4 separate regions of the Homo sapiens genome follow, and all the other regions are linked to region 2. Evidence: promoter capture Hi-C in 16 types of primary human blood cells and fetal thymus (Javierre and others, 2016). All regions are on one chromosome and are shown on one strand. Each heading gives the region's core, a stretch centred on a gene start or on the middle of the fragment in contact. The rest is flanking DNA. Distances are from core to core; before and after follow the strand shown.

Region 1 (6,033 bases), core at 3,256-5,755, 410 kb after region 2:
CAACTCAAAGAAATGGACTTTTGAGCAGGGTTTGAGGAGCTACTGGAAATCTGAAGCAATAGCAACAATAATTTTTTCTGGGGGGGGGGGGGGGGCGGGGACGGAGTTTTTGCTCTTGTTGCCCAGGTTGGAGTGCAATAGCGCGATCTCGGCTCACCGCAACCTCTGCCTCGCAGGTTCAAGCGATTCTCCTGCCTCAGCCTGCTGAGTAGCTGGAATTACAGGCATGCGCCTCCATGCCCGGCTAATTTTGCATTTTTACTAGAGATGGGGTTTCTCCATGTTGGTCAGGCTGGTCTCGAACTCCTGACCTCAGGTGATCCGCCCACCTCGGCCTCCCAAACTGCTAGGATTACAGGCGTGAGCCACCGCGCCCAGCCAACATCAATAAATTTAAACATCCCTTTTCAAGTATAATTTCTTCCATTCTAAGTGAAAACATTAAAAACACTGAAAGTCTCCTAAGGGTGAAATGTGTTGTATCCATTTTCTTTCTAGTCTCAACCCAAAGAGCATGGCAGTTAAGAGAACCAGGGACAAGGATTCGGGATCTGAATGCTACTCCAGATGCACCAATTTTGCCATGACCTAGAAAGCTATTTCATTTCTCTGGACTTTAATTTCTCATGCTGTAACATTGAGATGACCCCTTCTTAACGATTTGAGAAAGTTATCTTGACAAGTTTTAAAACGTTTTAAGTAGAATTGGGGAAAAAATATGCAGCAGTGAAGACTTCCAGGCTTACATCACATGTAATTTACAGCACCCTCTTAGGTCCTTTCAAAGAGCCTCATCTATTATTTATGTGGCTAACCTCCTTTTCTTTCTTTTTTTTGAAACCGAGTCTCACTCTGTTGCCCAGGCTGGAGTGCAGTGGGACAATCTCGGCTCCCTGCAACCTCCGCCTCCTGGGTTCAAGTGATTCTCCTGCCTCAGCCTCCATCGTAGCTGGGATTACAGGCACCAGCCACCACACCCAGCTAATTTTTGTATTTTTAGTAGAGGCGGGGTTTCACCATATTGGTCAGACTGGTCTCGAACTCCTAACCTCAAGTGATCCACCCACCTCAGCCTCCCAAAGTACTGGGATTACAGGCATGAGCCACTGCACGCGACCTATGTGGCTAACATTAATCACGTATGTCCATACTTCCCCATACCTCATTCCCAAAGAAGGTGCCTTACACACCATGAACTTAGATTAAAACATAACCCAAATCCTACACTTAAAAAATGAGGGACCTGAACCTCAAAGGTGGCATGGCTTGCCAAGGTTCCCCAGGCCCCCCAGAGGGCCGTTAAAATTCTGAATAAATCTTGGGTGGAAGCTGTCCTCTAGCTTACCAGCTGTATAAATTCCAGAGATCCACAACCTTTGCACTTTAGCTTCCTCATCTGTAAAGTGGGACAAAACCTTTCAGAAGACAGCTGTAAAACGTAAATGTGAATGCTTTAGCAACTGCAAAGGACATTTCAAATGTAAAAGCGACCGGGCACAGTGGCTCATGCCTGTAATCCCAGCACTTTGAGAGGCTGAGGTGGGAGGATCACTTGAGGTCAGGAGTTCAAGACCAGCCTGGCCAACATGGTGAAACCCCATCTCCACAAAAATACCAAAATTAGCCGGGCACGACAGTGGGTGCCTGTAATCCCAGCTACTCAGGAGGCTGAGGCAGGAGAATCACTTGAACCTGGGAGGCAAAGGTTGCAGTGAGCTGAGATCGTGCCATTGCACTCCAGCCTGGGTGACAAGAGTGAGACTCCCATCTCAAACAAAAAAAGAAAATGTAAGAGCCCTTTGTGTGTGTGTGTGAGAGAGAGAGAGACAGAGAGAGAAAAGAGAGAGAGAGAGAGGTCTTGCTATCAGAGACAGAGAGAGAGAGAAAAAAAGGTCTTCCTATCTCCCAGGCTGGGGTACAGTGGAGCAATCACGGCTCACCGCAGCCTCGACCTCCCGGGCTCCATCCTCCCAAGCAGCTGGGACTACAGGCGCACGCCACCATGGCCCAGCAACATTTTGTCTACGTGCTTATCAAAAGCAAGTATTAGCCATATAAAGCTTGTTGACTTTCAAATACCTGACCTACTAACTGAAGTGAAACTCAATAACCACTTTATCTTAAAATTAGGTCAACTTGAAACAGGCTTCCTGAGCCGTATTCATCGGCCCCGGCATGGGGGGCGGGGCTCATACTCTACTTCAGAATAAGAAACAGGTTAAACTTACATGCTTACAAGTTATGTGCTCCACAATATAAATTCAAGGACAGAGATTGTGTCATGGCCATTTCCATCAGTCTAATGCCAAACTTTAGTCAAGAAGGTGTTTAAGGCTGGGCACGGTGGCTCACGCTTGTAATCCCAGCTCTTTGGGAGGCCAAGGTGGGTGGATCACATGAAGTCAGGAGTTTGAGAGCAGCCTGGCCAACACTCAAAACCTCATCTCTACTAAAAATACAAAAATTAGCCTGGTGTGGTGGTGGCGTCTGTAATCCCACCTACTCAGGAGGCTGAGGCATGAGAATGGCTGGAACCTGGGAGGTGGAAGCTGCAGTGAGCCGAGATCATGCCACTGCACTCCAGCCTGGATGACACAGCGAGACTCCATCTCAAAAAAACAAACAAATAGAAAAAGGCGTTTAAGGGTTCTGTGTAACTGAACCAACTCACCTAACAAACGTTCATTCCTAGGTGCCACTCTGGAGGTGATAAAAATCGTGAGGAGCTGGAAACCACCTCACTCAAGAACAGTCAGCCAGTGATGCTGAGGCTCGAGAGACACATTGGGGTTAAGCAAGTGTTTAAGGGGTAGGTTAGGCTTTTTAACTCAATGAGGTTTGCTTTTCTATTTTAAAGAATACTAAATGCTTAACAATAATCACTAAAGATTTCAGGGGTGCAAGTTGTGCCCCTAGTATCTTATTACATTAAGAAAACTTGAGGACGTGTATAAGCTCCGTATTTACCTTCAGTGTTAAATACACTCTCAAGTTCAACAGAGCCCACAATGTTTCAGAGGTGCTATACTGTGGAAGACTGCATTTTGTTCTGCGAGGCTCATTAAAAAGCACCAGTTATCAGGAAAATTGATCAGAGAGGCTATGTTAGCTGGGTTCACAGAAAACTATTTAAAATCTATGAATCCTATGTGTGTGCTGCAAAATATGTAATGTAATGAGAGGGGAGGAAAACTTGGATAATGTACTACAAATGCTTCCATGTTTGAGAGATTCAAACCACAATTTGTGACTGGTTAAACAGTTCCTCGAGGGGGGAAAAATCAAGACCAAACAGAGATAATATCCCCAAAGCAGCATTTATTTACCCATTGAATTCCAAAACATTTATTTTAGAAGTCTGGCATTTCATAATCACCCATCTTGATTGACATGGGCTGACACACATGGCGCTGTCAGGATACACAAGGACAATAGCCAAAGAGTTACAAAAAATAAATCCATGATTCTTAAACAATTGCAACCAAAAAAAAAAAAAAGTTACAAGTATCAAAACTTTCAGATGCATTGCATTGAAAAGAAGGTTTGTGCACGTCATAATTTAAAGAGGCAAAACCAAGGAGCTACTGAAACCTCACGTTAAACAGTTTATTATAAAGCTGATGGAAAGGAGCAAGTTGTCTCTCTGTATCAGCTTCCCTTAACAGTTTTCCATTAATTGAAGAAAGAGGTGGGAGGGGTGAATTCATTTTTGCATGCACAAGATGTACTGCTTAACGAAACACTATCAGCTTGTTTTAAATGGATCTTTTAAATATCAACTGTAGCCTGGTTGGCTAATTCTTTCTAATCTTCCCCATTACTTTCGCCTAGATTTCCCATAGATCAACAGGCATAGTAAAATGCCTCATCAGAACACACTTCTCCACACAATTCAAAAAGGGAGCTCCTGTGGGCTCAAAGCAACCATCAGTCCAGCAATGCCCATGATTTATCTGAAACTGCTTCCCAAGAGACAGGAGTGCAGATCTGAGTAGCTGTGCTGCCAATACAGATAGGTTTAGCACTAGATATTTAGTGATTGTGGCAAGGAAGAATCGGTGATGATGGGGGTGGTGGGTGAAGGAAGGGCCAGGGGACCTGAAGGATCTTCAGTTGCCTTCTCCTGCTTCTTCATCCTGCTGGTCGCTCGTCCAGAGGGTGAGGTTGTCTCGCAGCAACTGCATGATCAGCGTGGAGTCCTTATAGGAATCCTCGTTTAGTGTGTCCAGCTCAGCTATGGCATCATCGAAGGCTTGTTTGGCTAAGAGGCAGGCTTGCTCAGGTGCATTCTGGATCTCATAGTAGAACACGGAGAAGTTGAGGGCCAGGCCCAGCCGGATGGGATGCGTGGGTTGCATCTGCTCTTTGCTGATTTCAAAGGCTTCCTTGTAGGCAGCTTCAGAAGCTTCGACCACACTGTTTTTCTTCTCCCCAGAAGCGACCTCTGCTAAGTAGCGGTAGTAATCACCCTTCATTTTCAGGTAAAACACCTTGCTCTCATACTGGAAATCATTGCAGTTCTTGATCAGGAACTTGTCAAGCAGAGACAGGACATCATTGCAAACTGTCTCCAGCTCCTTCTCAATCTTCTCCCGGTAAGCTTTAACTTTCTCCAATTTCTTTTCGTTTCCATCAGCCATGGTTTTCTGCTCAATGCTGCTAATGACCCTCCAGGAAGATCGCCTGGCACCAACCACATTCTTGTAGGCCACAGAGAGGAGATTTCGATCTTCATTGGAGAGAGGTTCATTCAGCTCTGTCACCTGCAAAACCCCAAAAAGATAAACATTGAAAGCAAAATCTGAAAATCTTGGTAAGAAGCCTTCCCTTCAACATAATCAACAATCCTTCTCAAGAACGGAATTACGAACAGGTCAGTCACTCTGGAGAATAAAAACCACCCATGGATAAAACCAATATAGACATGAACCCTATGTGAAGAAAGACTATAGTCTAACAGAAGAGATAAATACTTGGCACCCAAAACAGAAAATCATAGGGGCTTGAGAAATTCATAATTCGGGTCTGATAAGATGTTGCTTTCACCTTGGTAGAGGAATGGGACTAAGGATAATTATGAAAAGGTTGTACAGCAGCAGTACATAATGGTGAAGAAGAAAACCTCGAGCTTCAGCCATTCTGCAAAAGATACTCTGAACAGGCCGGGCGCGATGGCTTATGCCTGTAATCCCAGCACTTCAGGAGGCCAAGGGCGGGCAGATCATGAGGTCAAGAGATCGAGACCATTCTGGCCAACATGGTGAAACCCCATCTCTACTAAAAATACAAAAATTAGCTGGGCGTGGTGGCACGCGCTTGTAGTCCCAGCTACTTGGGAGGCTGAGGCAAGAGAAACTCTTGAACCCGGAGGTTGCAGTGAGCCCAGATCGTGCCACTGCACTCCAGCCTAGCTAGCGACAGAGCAAGCCTCCGTCTCAAAAGAAAAAAAAAAAAAAAAAAAAGATACTCTGAACAGTAAGATCGTACGGTCCCTTTGTCAAATGTTCAAAGACAACAGACTGGAAGTGTTCCAGACTCTGCTTCCAGCTTTATACTCTGGAAAGAACCAACCACTCCTCAAATACACATTAACAGATGGTGGGGCTTCACAGATCAGATGGAACATCACACAGATCCAGTGGCCAGAGCTTCGCCCTGTGTGGCTACACATGGAACCCTAACTGATACTCCCAGCCCTCTCCCAAACCAAAATGAAGAACAATTCATAAGTGACATGAAAGTACCCCCAGCTCCTAGTGAAAGGAAGCACAGCTACTCAGCAGGAAGTTGTACTCTGACCTACCTCACAGGAAACTCTGGTCATCAAGGATGGAAGCATCAATTATTTTAAGTGGAAGAGTTAAATTTCACAAGCTTTAACTTCCCTTAGTTCTCCATGATGCCAACTACAAGTGAACTAGCTATGCAGTTAGTAGGAAGAGCATTATTAGACTTTGCAGTGGTTGAACTGTATCCCCCGCCAAAAGATACGCTGAAGTTCTGACCCTAGGTTCCTGTGAATGTGAGCTTATT
Region 2 (5,962 bases), core at 1,559-4,058:
TAAGAAAAACAGATTCTTTTGGAATATATTACCTTTCTACACTAACATTTCTTCCTGGCTAACACGGTGAAAACCCGTCTCTACTAAAAATACAAAAAATTAGCCGGGCGTGGTGGCGGGCGCCTGTAGTCCCAGCTACTCGGGAGGCTGAGGCAGAAGAATGGCGTGAACCCGGGAGGCAGAGGTTGCAGTGAGCTGAGATCGCGTCACTGCGCTCCAGCCTGGGCGACAGAGCAAGACTCCGTTTAAAAAAAAAAAAAAAAAAAGCTAGATGACAACCACAATACTAAGTAATGCAACTCTAATACTAATGCATTTTACATAGTTACTAAATAATCCATTTTCTTGCTTTCAATATTCCTAATGCTAGATGAAAGTACTGTTTAGTTTACCAAACCTTTAATCAAAAATGTCTAATCAGTACATCTTTTTAGCCCTTTAATTCATGTTAGAGAGTTTTAAGATGGAAGAAACAAATTAGACTCAAATTAAAAAAAAGTCTGACCTACAGTAGCTATTAGATAGTTAACATTTGTGACATCATCATGATTTTGTTCTGATACATGTATTTCACTTAGCATTGTTGAAATCAACTGGAATAATAGCCAAATAAAAACATTCTTTTAGTTATAATTTCAAAAACGATTGAAATTTATCAACAGTCATAACAACATCATTGTACTCTTAAATTAGACAATTCTTAGCACATATAAAAACATATTTACCTCTTTCAACTAGGACAATGTTAGAATTTATCAAAATTCACCATCATCAACTTTTTTTTTTTTTTCCAAAATCTTGATTGTTAGGTACTATAAAACTGCACCCTAATCAAATGATGTGTTTTTGATCTGATGATTTTACAAAGTTGGGAGGAAATTCAACGAAAAAAATACTTGTACAATTAAATTTCAAATCCTAAACATTTACTTATTTAAGCCTGCCTCTCTAAACTTAAAATAGATATCAGCTCCTCCAATAGGATGAGTAGATTTTCTCACTATATTTTCCACTTCTTTTTAAATTTTCTCCTCCATTTGAGCATTCAGAAGCATGAATCTGTGGGGATTGTTAAAGTTTTTTTTTAGTTTGCTGCATTTCTGAGTATACAAACACATACACATATAACTATAGTATCGTGTGTGTGTGTGTATAATTTGTGTATATACATATATTTGTTCAATCTGGAAGCCATTGAAATTTTCTGTTTATAACAACACAGAATGACCTATTCTTTCAGCACCTACCCCATTACACCCTCTGTTTTATAATCACTGGACAAAATATAGCATCATCTATATTAATGCAGATTGTATACATCATTTGTGACCTATTTATTTGTTCTAGAAATTTGTACTTAGCAATGATAGACATTTGTACTGTAATATTTATATCATGAAGGGTACCTATTCTCTTTGAAACATAGCAACTCTCTCATCTTAACCCTAAAATTTTCATTTGTTCTATTTATTTTAGGGCAGGTCACTTTCAACAGCTTGTTTTCTTGGGCATATCATAAAAGTATTTGCAATTGGGTGTTATGTATCAGCCAGAATACACACGTAGTTATACATTTTGAAAGTTATCTAAAATTCTGCATTCAGAAACACTTTAATTATATGTATTAGGCTGGGCATGGTGGTTCACGCCTCTAATCCCAATACTTTGGGAGGTCGAGGTGGGTGGATTGCTTGAATCCAAGAGTTGAAGACCAGCCTGGGCACCATGGAAAAACCCCATCTCTACAAAATATTAGCTGAGCATGGCGGCAAGAACCTGTAGTCCCAGCTACATGGGAGGCTGAGTTGGGAGGATCACCTGAGCCTGGGAGGTCAAGGCTGCAGTGAGCCATGATCAAGCCACTGCACTCCAGCCTGAGTGACAGAGTGAGACCCTGTCTCAAATAAAAAATTATATGTATTCACCCAAAGTGTTCACCCCACCGAGAAGATGCACTGGTGAAAATATAGTGATTTTTTTTTCCTTTAAATACTCAGTGAATGGCCAGCCGTTTACATACACAATGGTAGACAAATTCCTCTGTGAATTCACAAAGTTTGGGAGATAAATAAGTGCATAGTAATATATAGAGATAAGTGGAAAAATAAGTTTCATAATTATATTGTGAGAGAAATATGATTTTTATAATATCAAGTAACACTTTTTTCTAATTCTGAACAGTTTATTGCTTCTAGAAACATTAGATCACTCAGGAATGGTAGAAATATGACTTTTTAGGGAAATATGACTTTTAAAATGTGACTTTAAAAAATGTCACTTTTTAAGAAACATGACTTTTATAACAATATCCATTTATGCTGTCTTTAATTCTGAACAGTTTGCTTATTGGTTCTAGAAATATTAGATGACTCAGGAATGGTAGAAATATTTGGCAATGGAATTTCGAATCGAGAATGGAACTTCTGGTTGTTACTAACATATCGGTTTTGCCCCTGCTCAGTTTGAAATTCTTGCCATTGAGTGTATTTTGGGGTACACAATTTCTCCTCCTAAAACTTATTTTAATAAGCACAGAATAGTAATTAATGAGCTTGGGTTTTGTTGTTTTTTTTTTAAGTAAAACGCCTAATCTTTTATTTTATTTTATTTTATTTTATTTTTTTACGGAGTCTCGCTCTGTCGCCCAGGCTGGAGTGCAGTGGCGCTATGTCGGCTCACTGCAAGCTCCGCCTCCCGGGTTCACGCCATTCTCCTGCGTCAGCCTCCCGAGTAGCTGGGGGCTCCCGCCACCACGCCCGGCTAATTTTTTGTGTTTTTAGTACAGACGGGGTTTCACCATGTTAGCCAGGATGGTCTCTATCTCCTGACCTCGTGATCCACCCACCTCGGCCTCCCAAAGTGCTGGGATTACAGGTGTGAGCCACCACTCCCTGCCGTAAAAGGCCTAATCTTTAATGACCCTCCTGTGCGTGTGAAAGCACTCTTGTTGGTGCAGCAGAAAGCGGACCTCACAATACACATTGTGACTTTACCCTGAGACGTTGATGATGCTCCTATCACCATGGTTATGTGATTGGGTATATCTTGCCCTCGGTCCTAACTGCCACTGTCTGTGCTGAGTTTTTCAAAGTTCATAGCAGGTTGAACATGCTTGCTGTCATTTTCACAGATTCTGGTCTTTCTTATGGGGAACCTGAGTTCCTGCATTAAAGGTATGTTCACATTGGCCTGTTGAATGCTGTCCTCTCAAATGTACTAGTTAATATTTAAAAATATATTTTATTAAAAAATTCTCCTCTGTATTTTTCATATGCAGTTATAAATGTGTTTCCCGGTTATGTTTTATTCCTCAATTTATATATTTGATTCTAGTATCAAGCAGGATGCCTTTGAGCTTTTCCTTTATTTAAAAGACATGTCTTATTTCCTGTTACATCTGGCACCCCTCAAACCACCCAATTAGGTATCCTTCTGGGAAAAATATGGCAAAGTATGTTTTAATGCAGTTTTTACCTAATTAAGAACCTATTAAAATCATTAATTTTAAAAATTAGGAGCAAAGCTAGAATGATGCAGATGTCTTTGAGGCTTTTAACACAACGAAGTGTGTCCATCTTTGTCTTTTGTTGTTGTTTTTTTGTTTGTTTGTTTGTTTTTGAGATGGAGTCTCACTCTGTCGCCCAGGCTGGAGTGCAACGGTGCGATCTCGGCTCACTACAACCTCCGCCTCCCGGGTTCAAATGATTCTCTCGCCTCAGCCTCCCGAATAGCTGGGATTTCAGGCACCCACCATCATGCCCGGCTAATTTTTGTATTTTTGTAGAGACAAGGTTTTACCATGTTGGCCAGGCTGGTCTTGAACTCCTGACCTCAGGTGATCCACCTGCCTCGGCCTCCCAAAGTGGTGGTGTTACAGGCGTGAGCCACCACACCAGGCCCTGGCCTGTTTTTAGTATGTCTTTCCTCTCTCCTTTTTCATGAAATGTGTATTCAGTTTAGTAAATTTGGAATATGTCATTTATATTCACATATTAACTTTTTGAAAAGAAGTAAGAATGTGTATTGTCTATGTGTCAGTGTGTGAAACAAAACACACTTATTTTTATGATTGGGGTTTATCCAAAATGATAGAGATAACAATTATAGTCAATCACCCAAACCACTTACCTTTCCAAAGGTAAATATAATCAAGTGTAATCATTTTTTCTCATCCAGAGAGTAGTTCATATTTCAACATACAAAGATAGAGAAGTGAAATGAATCGGTAAACACTATTAACCAAGAACATACAGATTTACTCACACCAGGAAACACGTAGGTCACATACATATATGTAAAGATACATTTAAAAATAATAAGATGATAATTGTACAAGTTTGCATATAAAGTGTAACTTTGAAAAACTGTTAATACTGTTTCTGATGGATTGTGTGACTTAGTTCTCCTGACCTATCCTTCAGAGTTCTTTCTAAGGAGGTTGTTCGTTCCATGACTTGGAAACAATCGAAAGTTAGAGGCACTTACATGTGTTAAGAATAAATAAGGCAGCTGGGCGCGGTGGCTCATGCCTGTAATCCCAGCACTTTGGGAGGCCGAGGCAGGCAGATCACCTGAGGTCAGGAGTTCAAGACCAGCCTGACCAACATGGAGAAACCCCATCTCTACTAAAAATGCAAAATTAGCTGGGCGTGGTGGTGCACACCTGTAATTCCAGCTACTCAGGTGGCTAAGGCACAAGAATCACAGAACACAGGATACCACTTCACAATTAGCCTCAGGTGTCACCCTTGTGGCAACTCTCCTGTACAGCTGGGTTAAAGAGCCTCGGTGCTCACATGGGGTCATCTCCTCACTCTGCCTTCCTTCACTGTGGGTAGCTTGGGCTGAAACTAGACCTCATATGGCTAGGTGAACTAGACCTGGCTGAAACTAGGCCCCCTCATGCAATGATTGCAAACACAAGGGATAGGAAGGGAAGACTAAAAGGAAGATCTTTGATTTACAGTGGATATTTTAACATGTATTTCAGTATTTTCCAGTTTTTAATAATTGATTTATAACAAAGAATTGAGTAAATATAATTAGCCCTGGTACCTGATATTGAATTTAGTTCCTCAATAAAAATTTACACATAAACAGGGGCTGAATCCTATACCCCAGATGTTAAATGTTACAGCAGCAGATGGGGGTCTGTGGAGGTTGAAAGGGAGTTGGTCAATATCAAGGAGTCAGTGGCAGTTCTGCTGGACTTTAAAATGGGCTGAGGGAGTGACAGGACTCTGTGGTTGAATTCTAGCATGCATTTTAGTAGTTGCTCATTTGAAGTTTGAGTATTTCGTGTCGCTTTCATCTGCTATTACCTGGAAAGACAAAGGCTCTATTTCTCATTTCCTTTCTGCCCGTCTCTCTGCCTTCCTTGGTCCATAGAAGAGGATGGCCCAGGAGAAGCTCAATTCATGCTTGTTAACCAACCACATCCATAAGTTCTAGCCCTTTGTTCATGTCACCACCAATGAACTGACAGTCATGTTGTGTCCTTTCAGTTCCCCCAGAAGATCAATGGAAGGTGGATTCCAAAGAGTGGGCAAGTGAGGACCCCTTCTCTGTTACCAAGGTAAAGTAGCCTGTCTTTGCCTAACATGTGTGTAATTTTCTTGGTTATTTCATTTTTCAATTGATATCAGATAGAGAAAAATGATCAGGTGCGTTATAGGTGTTAGATGATGTTTCCTTGGGGATGGAGGGGTGCACCCCACCCACTGACACCTGATTGAAGAGGACATCTGGAATTGGCAGGGCTGGGTCACACACAGCATGTTAGGGGACACTTTCCTCTGCAACAAGCTTTCCACTTTAGATTAAGTATTTTGTAACTGCTACTTCAAAATGGTCTTGACAAAGATTTTTTTTTTTTTTTGAGACGGAGTCTTGCTGCGTAGCCCAGGCTGGAGTGCAGTGGTACGATCTCGGCTCACTGCAAGCTCCGCCTCCCGGGTTCACG
Region 3 (5,481 bases), core at 2,159-4,658, 310 kb after region 2:
CAGCCACAGTGACCAGAGGGCCCAGAGCAGACAGAACAGTGACACCATCCTAATATCAGAGCCACAGAAGTGTGGTCAAGGATTCATAACTTTTGCTGGCCAGAGAAGTCTGCGAGGTGGCCAGATGGCCCCTGACCTCCAGCCATTTGCTCATTTTAATCCCATATGCCCTACCACTGTAGGAGTAGCTAGGTGTTATCCCAGCCCAATAAACCTGTCACTGGGCATCACTAAGGAGCCAGACCCTTGCCCTGGAGGAGGAGGAGGAATATATCCATATAATGCCACTGCAGACAGTCGGGAATTTCATAACCTGGGAGTGAAAGCCAATCCACAGATTTTTCTGCCATTTATCCCATAATGTCTCCTCTGCCCTCTAGGAAGACCAAGCTGACAGATACATTTGCCAGCAGGAAATGAAATAACAGAGCAGATACTTACCCCAGCCTTAATATAGATGGGGACAAACAGCCAGCCCAGCACAACCACCAAAACCAGGGCCTGAAATGAACACAAAAGGTGGACTCAAATTAGGAGGAAACTTAGCCCATCCCTGCCACCTGAAGGGCCCCTCAGCTGCTGCAGAAAAATTACCCAGCATGTTCTCCCCTAAGGAGCCGTTAGAGACTGCAGGAGGCCTTTGCTGCCTAACTGACCCATGGAAATAGCAGCTAGAAAACAGCAGAGAGGAGCCCAGGAGGCTGCTCATCAACATCACAGCAGTGGGCCACAGCTAGAGCACTGGGTTCTCCTTCACCTCTTCCCTGGTTTACACAGAGTAAAATGCCATTTAGAGAGCTTTAATAATAACAATAATAATAATTAATAATTACATTTATTATGACGACTACTATTATTATTAGAGGCCAGGAGTTCAAGACAAGCCTGGGCAATATAGTGAGGCCCTGCTTCTACAAAAAATTAAAAAATTCGCCAAGCATGGTGGCACATGCCTGTAGTCCCAGCTACTTGGGAGAGTGAGGTGGGAACATCGCTTGAGCCCAGGAGTTTGAGGCTGCAGTAGGCTATGATTGCACCACTGCACTCCAGCCTGAGCAGTGGAGCAAGACCTTGTCTCTAAAAATAAAATAATAAAAATTTTTTTAAAAAAAATAATAATAATAATAATGGAAATCTGGTGGTAAGCATTTCCAAACCTCAAACATGGCTAGAAGGGCCTTGGCTTTTTAACATGAAGAGAAAACAGAAAAAATACTATTGCTGTCATACCAGTGGTTTTCTCATGCTACTCTGGTGGAAAGGGAGCAGGGCCCTGAGGCTCCTGAAGTCATGCCCCTCCTCTGTCTGCACCCTGGGGTGACCCTGAAGGGTTCCCTAACATCTTCAGCTCCTCTGAGCATAGATTGAACTGGTTGACTGCTAAGGCTCCTTCCAGCCCCAGTGCACCATGGCTGCAGTGTTACTCACATTCCATTCAAAGCCTCCAATGGCGATGCCTGAAGCTGCCCCAGTCCCGGCCAGCCCCACAAAGTGGCCACTTCCAATGTTACTAGCAAAGAGGGAGGCTCCAATCTGGAAACGCAAAAGAAAGTCAGGTGAGGGCTCTGTGCTCTCCCAGGACACTCAGAGTGGGTCAAAGAGAGAGGAGACATGTCAGCCAAGAGAAGGACAAGAAAGAGCAGAGGTGGGCTGGGAGAAAACTGTGCTGGAATCATCAGGGACAGCTGGTTCAGAAGGCAGATGTGGAAACTTGGAAAACAGTAAAGATGAAAAGGAGAGGATTGGAGAAGGAGCAGTGGGATGTATCCCAAAACCAGATCATCTGTGAGTCTTTTGTGGGCCCCGTGTCCAATCCTGAAGAAGATATGGGAAGTCCCACAGCCACCAGGCCTCCCTAAAAATCTCCTTCAAGGCTGTGTGCCTAGGAGCATGAGCCCTTGATCTCCATATCCCCCAGCATGCCTGGTGGCTTAGGGTCTTGCCCAATACAGGCTCTCAGTAAACACTGACAATTTTCTTGAGAGAAATCATTTCAAAGGAAGCCTCTGGACCTTAGTCATTTGGTCAAATGAGGAGGGGCGTGGAGCTGATGATTTGCAAGTGATTCCTAGCTATTAAATTATGTGACTCCATGAACTCCCAAGTAACAGAGATGATATTAATAATAATAATGATTCTCTAGATCATACAGTATTGATACTTTTTACAAAGGTTCTAGGGACCACACGGACACGTGCACAAAACACTGCATTTTTCAAGGATACGCACATGTCTAAATACAGATTATAGAAGACAGATTGGAAGCACATGTATCAAATACCCAAGAGTGGAAGACTGGAAGGGGAAAGGAGAATAAGACTGTGAATGGTAGACAAAAAAAGAAAGTATCAGGTAAAGCAAGAGAGGGATCTTGCACAACCAATCATAATACTGTGTCAGCAATTCAATTGCATTTGAGGCCAAAAAGAACTCCAGAAAGTTCTAAAGTCCTTCTGTATCCAAGAGGAGAAGGTACAGCAGCATTTGATAAGAACCAAACAAGTGTAATTATCCCCATTCTTGCTAAGCAGATGAAGAGTGGCTTGTAGTTACTTATCTAATGTCCCAAAGATGGTCCAAACCTGGAACAAAACGCTTATTTCCCAAAAGAGATTATGCCAAGAAACTGTTCTAACTATACCAGCCCCTATTCCCAGTATAAGGCAGCTGGTGCTTAGTGCCAAATATTAAGTCAGGGGAGAGGGAGATTTCTGAAGGCTTAGCCAGAAGAAGTTCTCAGAATGACAATGAGGAGACAGTGGTTGGTGCAGGTGCATTAATACATTTGCTCAACAAATATTAACTTAGCATCTACTACACGTGTTAAGCACTAATAACAGCTGTGAATAACACAGACAAAATCCCTACTCTCAAGAAGCTTATATTCAAATACTGTAAACATAAATAAATAAACAACAAAAACAATGATCCGAGAGTGGTAAGTGCTATGAAGAGAATAGAGGGTATGACAGAGTGATTAGATTGAAGAGTCTGAGAAGGTGACTCTATGGACTTTCTCTAATATTAAAGAATTACTATTATAATTCAGACCTTTAAGCTGAGATCTAAATGACAAAAAAGTTAATCATTCAGAGACCACAGGAATAGCATTCCACCTAAGCAAAGACCCCCTGACACAGGTATGCACAGTTGAGAAGCAAAAAGAAGGTTGATATATGATAATGATTTGTGATCTTAACATTTTAAAATAGAGTCATTTAGGCTGGGTGTGGTGGCTCATGCTTCTAATCCCAGTACTTTAGGAGGCTGAAGCAGGAGGATTGCTTCAGACCAGGAGTTGGAGACCAGCCTGAGCAACATAGTGAGACCCGGCCACTACAAAAAAAATGTAAAAACTTAGCTGGGCATGGTGGTGCGTGCCTGTAGTACTACCTACTTAGGAGGCTGAGGAGGGAGGATCAATTGAGCCCAGGACCTGCAGGCTTCAATGAACTATGATCGTGCCACTGCACTCCAGCTGAAGTGACAGAGTGAGACCCTGACTCAAAAAAAAAGTTAGTTTTATTCTAAGTGAGATGGGATGACACTGGAGGATTTTAAGCAGGAGAGGGACAGGACCTAATTTGCTTTTTTAAATTGCTCTAAGTTGTGTATAGATTGCAGTGTTGGGGGCAAGGAAGAAAATAGAACAACCAGCTGGGAGACTATCCCTGGCTTAGGTGAGAGGGGACAGTGGCTTGGACTAGGGTGACAGCAGTTGAGACAAAGGCAAGCGTAGAGATTAGGGAGTATGTTTTAGAAACAAAGTTGGCAGGCTCTGTTGATAGGTTAGATGTGGGAAATGTGGGACAGAATAATCAAAGGTAACTCCTAGATTTGGGACTTGAGTAACTGGGTGGACGCCATTCATTAAGAAGGGGAAACTAGGGGAAGGCAGGTTGTTTAGAGACATCTACCTCCTTCTGCTCAAAGCTTGAGGGGGATAACAGTCCACTTTTTTTTTTTTTTCCTAAGACAGGGTTTTATTCCTGTCACCCAGGCTGGAGTGCAGTGGTCCATCTCAACTCACTGCAACCTCTGCCTCCCAGGCTCAAGTGATCCTCCAGCCTCAGCCTCCCAAGTAGCTGGGACTACAGGCGCGCACCACCACAGCCGACTAGTTTTTGTATTTTTTGTAGAGACGGGGGTTCGCCATGTTACCCAGGCTGGTCTTGAACTCCTGGTCTCAAGCAATCCATCCGCCTTGGCCTCCCAAAATGCTGGGATTACAGATGTGAGCCACCCTACCCAGCCTAACAGTCCACTTTTAATCAAAAGTTTCATTCTGCAAGTGGCCTACCTGCCCTGACCCACTATCTTTTCATTTATCACCTCTTGCTTGATAAATAATTAAGCCTAATGCTGTACTATTAAGGACATAATTACCAGAAATTATTAACTGCATTAGATGAGTCATAAGTTCAAAAAGTCCTCTCCAATATCTCTCCCAAACAGGGACATTGTCCTTTAAGCAATGTCAGGCTGTCCTGAAGTCCCCACTCACTATCTGAGAAGAGAGTGGAATGAGGCCAGGAGAGTTCGGGTATCAGAATGTCCTGAGCCCAGGTTCTATTCATTTCTATTAGGGGAACAACCTTCCTCATTCTGGACTCCCTCTCTTTACCCCATGACCTACACTTAATCATTTACCAAAACTCTGACTCTGCCTTCACAATATTATGGCCACCTAGCTCTTTCTAGATAGCCCTTGTGCTGCCTGTCACTATCTCTCAACAGGACCAAGTAGCGGGCTGCTAGAGGATCTCTATTCTCTCCTTTCCATCAGTCACCTCCCCACCCACCCACATGGCCAAGCAACCTCCCTAAAGCACAACTCTGATCATAACACTGACCTATTCAGAGACTTTCCTGGACACCCAAAAGGGCCTGTCAGGTGGTCTTCCTGACAGCTACAGGCCTAAAAACTGTCTTAGGAATATAGCAAGGTTTCAAGGTAAAGTTCCCTCAAGTGCAGAGACAGCATGAGCTTTACAACTCAAGTTTGAATGTTTTCTTGACCTCTTACTCTCTGGGTGATTAGAACATCTGCAAGCCTCCGTCTTCTCTCATGGCAGGGTTGGTGCAGGAGTCAAATGAAATAATGAACCAGTTGTGACTGACACAGCTGATTCTCAATCAGTGTCCCTTCCCTCCTTTCTCCTCCCAAGAGGATAATTACTTCACCCTCAAAGACACTTAGCAAAAGCTACAATGGATACTGTTATAGACAGAATTGTGTCCTCTCTGCAAAATTCCTATGTTAAAGCCCCAACCCCCAAGGTGATGGTATTTGGAGATAGGGCTTTTAGGGAGATAATAAGGTTAAATGAGCTCATAAGGGTGGGGCCCCAATCTGATAGGATTGGTGTCCTTATAAGAAGAGACACCAGAAATCTCTTTCTCTCTCTCCCCATATACATGCACAGTAAAGAGGCCATATATGAGGACACAGCAAAAAGGCAGCCGTCTACAAGCCAGGAA
Region 4 (6,311 bases), core at 3,435-5,934, 280 kb after region 2:
GTGTGTTTGTGTATGTGTGTTTCCATCTGAGGGGATTTTTATAAGGTCTCTCACCTGAAATATTTATGATATAACAGAAAGAGATTTAAACTATTATTCAAAAGATGGGGCTCTCAAGAAAGTAAGCCATCCACAGACTGGGAGAAAATACGTGCAAATCATGTATCTGATAAGGGTCTAATATAAGAACATATAAAGAACTCCTAAAATTCAATAATAAAATGACAACCCAATTTAAAATGCCAAAGGATCTGAATAGACACTTCTCCAAAGCCATACAAATAGCCAATAATGACATGAAAAGATGCTTGACATCAGGGGAATTCAAATCAAAGCCATAGTGGGATAATAACTTTGTACCCACTAGGATAGCTATGATAATAAATTTTTAAAAAACAGAAATAACAAGTGTGAGTGGAGATATGGAGAAATGAGGACCTTCATATATTGCTGGCAGGAATGTAAAATGGTACAGCCACTGCAGAAAATAGTCTGGGTCAGTCAGTTTTTCAGATGGTTAAACATTCAGCTACCATATTACCCATCAATTCCATTCCTAGGTGGAATTTCATTTCTCTCTACCCAAGAGAAATGAAATTCCATTCCTAGGTGGAATTTCATTTCTCTCTACCCAAGAGAAATGAAAACATATGTCCACTCAAAAACTCATACATTAATGTTTGTAATATTATTACTTGTAATACCCAAAAAGGAGGAGCAATACAAATGTCCACCAAATGATAAGTGGATAAACAAAATGCATAAGCAATTGACAAATGGGTAAACATGTGATGGAATATTATTCATCAATAAAAAGGAATGACATACAAATACATGCTAGGACACATATGAACCTTGCAAACATTATGTTAAGTAAAAGAAGCAAGTCACAAAAAAACACGTATTATATGATTCTATTTATATGAAATATCCAGAATAGGCAAATCTAGGAATACAGAAAGTATGTTAGTGGTTGCCAGGGACTGGGAGGTTGGGGTGAAATAGGGAGAGACTGCTCATTTCATTAGCAGGTATAGGATTTCTTTATGGCATGACACAAATTTTCTAAAATTTATTTCAGTGATGCTTGCACAACTCTGTGAATATACTTAAAAAACCACTGAATTGTACATTTTAAATGAGGGAATTGTAGGATAGGTGAATTTAAGCTCAATTAAGTTTTTTTGTTTTTTTTTTTTTTTTTGAAAGACAAGGCTGTATTTCTAACTCTGATCCTAAGCAAGTTACGTCAAGCTCTAGGCCTCATTTCTTGATGTGTTAAACAGGGATACCTTCCCAAATCAGTATACGGAATACTACACCTTCCCAAATAGGAATACGGAACTCTTGTTATTAAAGTTTTCTCAATTATGGCAAGCCTGGTTGGCTATAATCTCTATTATTCTTCCCATACCAAGGAGTGTACAGGGGGACACCTGCTGAGGCTAGAAGGCCAGGCCAAGCTGAGGACCCACTAACAAGAGTTTTACAGTTTCAGGAGTAAAAGTAACCTTAGGATCACCTAGACCTATCATCCATCTGATACATGAATCCCTTCCACAACATTCCTCTGCCCATCTCTATAGCAACAGGAAATCTCCTACCCTACAGGGAACCTGCCCTCAGACAGTTCTGAGTAGGCTGAAATCTACCTCTCTATAGCATCAAATGTAGTCCTCATGGTACCCAACAGAACAGGTCTTACTCCTTATCCATTTTGCCATCTTTCATATATTCAAAGATAACTCATGTTCCCTTGAACTCTCTCTTCTCTATATTCCTATCTAACTGCATTTAGGAGACCCAAATGTTTAGAACTTTACTTATACCTCTATTAAACTTCAGCTGGTTAGATCTGAGTCAGCATTCATGCCTCTTGAGATCTTTTTGGAACACAATTCTGTCTTTCCTCTAGGTTTTATATCTTTAAATAATTTATGGTCTCACCTACAGCCTTGCAAGATGAATTCTAAAGGCTGCCTATTCTAATTATTTTGTCATTTGTTGCGAGGTTTTTTTAATGGCTCTTTCTGAGTTTGTGTGGTATAGATCACAAACTATCAGAGATATAGAAGTTATAAAGATCATCAAGTCCAATTATCTCATTTTTCAGTTGATAAAGGTCCATTTCAAGGAGTTAGTAGGAAGGGCTTTCAGCCCTAGCTCTGCCATTCGTTCAGGATTACTTTGCCTTGAAATTGGTAAGCTGGGATAGAACTTTCCCCACTGTATGACACTCTTATCAGACCCCATTCATTTAATTACTCAACAAATATTTGCTGAACACAATTTTACAGTGCATAATTTTACAGTGGTCTAGGCAAAAAATAATGGTCTATCAGACTAGGGTAACAAAAGTAAAAATAGAGAGACATACATTAGGAGACAAAATAGACACAAGTTGGTGTGGATTGGTGGGAGGATCACCTACTTGCTGAGTGGAGGAGGCTGAATCTGCAAATGGAATGAAAAGGAGCAGCCAGAGAGGATGGGGAAAATTTAAAAAGACAAACAGGAGAATACAGTATGATGGAATCCAAGAGAAGAGAACAACTCAAGAAGGATGAGTGATCGATAATGCTGAATGCCACTGAGGGATCCAGTAAGGTGAGGAATGGAAAATATCTATTTAGTCTAGCACAGGGAGGTCATTAAGGAATACAGTAGGCTGGGCATGGTGACTCACACCTGTAATCCCAGCACTTTGGGAGGCTGAGGCGAGTGGATCACCTGAGGTCAGGAGTTTGAGACCAGCGTGGCCAATGTGGTGAAACCCCGTCTGTACTAAAAATACAAAAAAATTAGCTGGGCGTGGTGGCAGGTGCCTGTAATCCCAGCTACTACAGAGGCTAAGGCAGGAGAATTGCTTGAACTGGGGAGGTGGAGGTTGCAGTGAGCTGAGATCACGCCATTGCACTCCAGCATGGGTGATAAGAGCAAGACTCCATCTCAAAAAAAAAAAAAAAAAGGAATGCAGTATTTACTGAAGCCAGATTACAGCCAAGAGGAGGGACTAGCAATGGCACAGGGAAGCACGGCATTTTATTCTGCATGCCACACATCTTTCTGTTGTGCACAGTCCACTCCCGCATAATGTTTAGTCCTCACTAGGAGGGTCTGCCCACCTAAAGGAATAACATAAACACTCCACAGAGGCCAATGCAATCCATGCCAGAACTTTTCTAGAAGAGTCACTGTGACTCCTGCTAATTGTAACCTTATGAATAAGCAGCCCAGCTCAGTAGGCTAGTTAAGTATTATTCCCATTTTTATATAATTTGAATGCAAATGGTTTGCCCAAAGTCATGCATGAAGTTTGTAGTTTTTTAATTTTTTAAAAGACTCTCCCGAATTCCTCAATTCCAGCCTTGAGCAGCGTTAAGCATGCCAAATGCCAGACACCACGTTCCTGCCTGGCCCTGGAAAACTCACCTCCCCTCTATTGGCTTCCGTTTCCCCAACTGTAAAATGAAAGAATTTGACTAGTCTCTAAGTTTCTTTTCAGTAATACAATTTTATAGGTTTATTCTAAATTTTTCTAGGTAATAACTTTGAAGTTTTGTTCTCCTGAAACCCCCTAACCTAACCCCCTAGCCAGATTTGTATCCCTTGAGCCAGAATTAGGAGATTTTTCTGAAACATGACTGTAATCCCACAGGTCAACTACAAAACTCTAGCTATTCAGGAGTCACAGCTAAGTACTCAGTCTCCTAGGAAAACAGATTCTTTATGGTGACAAGCCGCCTTGAATGCCATCCATCTCCTGCCTCAGACTTTCTCATTCTAGAGCTGAAATCTTGCCTCTTTCCCCATGTGTTTCCTTGGAAGAGCATAAAAGTCAATTCATTCTCCAGGTAAAACCCCTTGGACCTAGTTCAAGCCTTCATTTTAACATCTGTTGGAGAGCTTTTTAAAAATATTTTTTAATTGGCAAGTAAAAGTTATGTATATTGAGGGTATATAATATGATGTCTTGAAATATCTATACATTAGCTCAATTGAGCTAATTAGCAAATATATGCATTACCTTAAATACTTAACATTTTTTGTGGTGAGAACAGTTAAAATCTACTCTTGGCAATTTTCAAGTATACAATACGTTGCTATTAACTATAGTCACTATGTTGTACAATAGATCTCTTGAACTTATTCCTCTTAACTGAAATTTTGTATCCATTGACCAACATCTTCCCAGATCCCCACCCCAACCCCTAGTAACCACCATTCTACTCTCTGCTTCTACAAATTTGACTTTTTAAGGCTCTACATGTAAGTGACAATATGTGGTATTTGTTTGAGTCTAAAGTATTTCACTAAACATAATGTTCTCCAGGTTCATTTATGTTGTCATAAATGACATAATTTCCTTCTTTTTGAGGGTGAATAGTATCCCATTGTGTATATACTGTATATTACATTTTCTTTATCCATTCATCCATTCATTCATTGATAGGCATTTATATTGATTCCACATCTTGACTACTGTGAACAATGCTACAGTGAACATGGGAGAGCAGATATCTCTTCAAAACACTGATTTCATTTCCTTTGGCTATATGCCCAGTCATGGGATTACTAGATCATATGGTAGTTCTATTTTTAATTTTTTGAGGGACCACCATCCAGTTTTCCATAATGGGTGTGCTAATTTACATCCACTGTTGGAGAGCTTTGAAAGACCTTCTGTATGAGTATGGAAAGTCATGTTTTTCTCTAACAAGTTTTCAGATCATCTCCTTTCCAAGCCTGACTGATGGGCAAGTCCCAGAACTCATAGAACCCAACCAAGTCATATGTCTCCTTCCCACTGAGAGAGGACATGTCCAAAAACTGAGGACACCCACAATGATGCTTTCCCTTCTAACCCCCCGGCTAAGAAATGTCTTTGCCCAGAAGGTTCACAGGAATGTAGGTGGTGCCTAAACCCAATCAGCCTCCCAAGAAAGACTCTACCAACCTCCCAAGAAAGAATCTCACCATTGGGCATGAGCTCCACCACTAAGGTTGGATAGGCGATGTTGGTACAGCCAACCTTGGTACCGCAATATTTCTCACATTCTGAAGGGACGACACAGGCAATTTTTTCTGGGAAGAGATGGAGAGCCACGTCAGCAAGCAGACATTGGGGAAATATTTCCAAAATTCACCTTCTTTTTTTTTTTTTGAGACGGAGTCTCACTCTGTAGCCCAGGCTGGAGTGCAGTGGCACGATCTCGGCTCACTGCAAGCTCTGCCTCCCGGGTTCACGCCATTCTCCTGCCTCAGCCTCCCAAGTAGCTGGGACTACAGGCGCCCACCACCATGCCTGGCTAATTTTTTGTATTTTTAGTAGAGATAGGGTTTCACTGTGTTAGCCAGGATGGTCTCGATCTCCTGACCTCGTGATCCACCCGCCTCAGCCTCCCAAAGTGCTGGGATTACAGGCGTGAGCCACCGTGCCCGGCCAAAATTCACCTTCTTAAAACAAGGTTTCAAACAGGATATTCCTTTCCAAGGCTCTGAAATGGTTCCTCAGGAGTGCAGCTCTCCACAGAACCCTTTGGTGCCTGCCCCGCCCTGCTGGCCCTGACACACTGATGAGCTCTGACTAAGGAAGAAAGACAATTTCTAGGCAACGGAGGAAAGAAATCAAAGAAACATTCAGGGTGGAAGGATGACAGCAAGAGATTAAGCAACAATTGAGCAAATATTATTAGGGAGAAGTGACCTGGAGGCATGTCATAACTTTAGAAGATTTGAAAAAAAAAAAAAAAAAAAAGGAGGAAACAATTGTCGACATAAGAAACCAGGGAAGACAACTCCAAAAGTTCCCTCAAGTTGCTCACTGTCTAGCACAGGAGCAATAATGCTTGGATATGACCATAACAAATAAAGAAGAGGGCCAGGCGTGGTGGCTTATGCCTATAATCCCAGCACTTTGGAAGGCCAAGGCAGGAGGATCACTTGAGGCCAGGAGTTCAAGACCAGCCTGAGCAACATAGCAAAATCCCATCGCTACAAAAAAAAAAATTAAAAATTAGGCAGGCATGGTGGTACATACCTGTAGTCCCAGCTGCTCAGGAGGCTGAAGCAGGAAGGTCACTAGGGCCCAGGAGTTAGAGTTGGAGACTGCAGTGAGCAATGATCACACCACTGCACTCCAGCCTGGGTGACAGAGTGAGACCTGGTCTCAAAAAAAAAGAGGAGGAAGCGGGAAGCTATAGAGCTTTAGAAGTGACTTGGAGACAGAAAAAGGGAGAGTGGTTTGTGGGTCCAGCAGAAGTTATTACCTGTGTACAGAATGCGGCTGATCATTCCTGGCATCACCATGA

What was found. Contacts are between HindIII fragments. The CHiCAGO score rates a contact against its expected background, and 5 or more counts as called.
Region 1: a fragment that was not itself captured here is called in contact with the fragment with the promoter of RFPL3S in region 2 in 1 of 17 cell types (M1 macrophages); the score reaches 5.9 in M1 macrophages.
Region 3: a contact is called between a fragment that was not itself captured here and the fragment with the promoter of RFPL3S in region 2, in 3 of 17 cell types (M1 macrophages, M2 macrophages and naive CD4 T cells). The highest score is 6.4, in M1 macrophages.
Region 4: a contact is called between a fragment that was not itself captured here and the fragment with the promoter of RFPL3S in region 2, in 2 of 17 cell types (M1 macrophages and M0 macrophages). The highest score is 6.6, in M1 macrophages.

What each region holds. Positions count from the first base shown.
Region 1 is chr22:31,954,869-31,960,901 of GRCh38, reverse strand. It overlaps YWHAH (tyrosine 3-monooxygenase/tryptophan 5-monooxygenase activation protein eta), which reads right to left. Exons shown (of 2, transcript NM_003405.4): 2 at 3,299-4,763. The coding sequence ends at 4,110. Among named protein-coding and RNA genes, the nearest start is that of YWHAH-AS1, 13 kb to the right of the region's middle. The HindIII fragment of the contact is 195 bases long and covers 4,408-4,602 here.
Region 2 is chr22:32,368,110-32,374,071 of GRCh38, reverse strand. It overlaps RFPL3S (RFPL3 antisense), which reads left to right and starts at 2,808. Exons shown (of 5, transcript NR_104232.1): 1 at 2,808-2,874; 2 at 3,131-3,173; 3 at 5,505-5,575. The HindIII fragment of the contact is 20,480 bases long and covers 1-5,807 here.
Region 3 is chr22:32,062,987-32,068,467 of GRCh38, reverse strand. SLC5A1 (solute carrier family 5 member 1) reads right to left here. Exons shown (of 15, transcript NM_000343.4): 3 at 1,429-1,533; 4 at 442-501. Among named protein-coding and RNA genes, the nearest start is that of SLC5A1, 22 kb to the right of the region's middle. The HindIII fragment of the contact is 1,055 bases long and covers 2,881-3,935 here.
Region 4 is chr22:32,084,994-32,091,304 of GRCh38, reverse strand. It overlaps SLC5A1 (solute carrier family 5 member 1), which reads right to left. Exons shown (of 15, transcript NM_000343.4): 9 at 6,270-6,311; 10 at 4,978-5,085. Among named protein-coding and RNA genes, the nearest start is that of SLC5A1, 45 kb to the right of the region's middle. The HindIII fragment of the contact is 9,695 bases long and covers 1-6,311 here.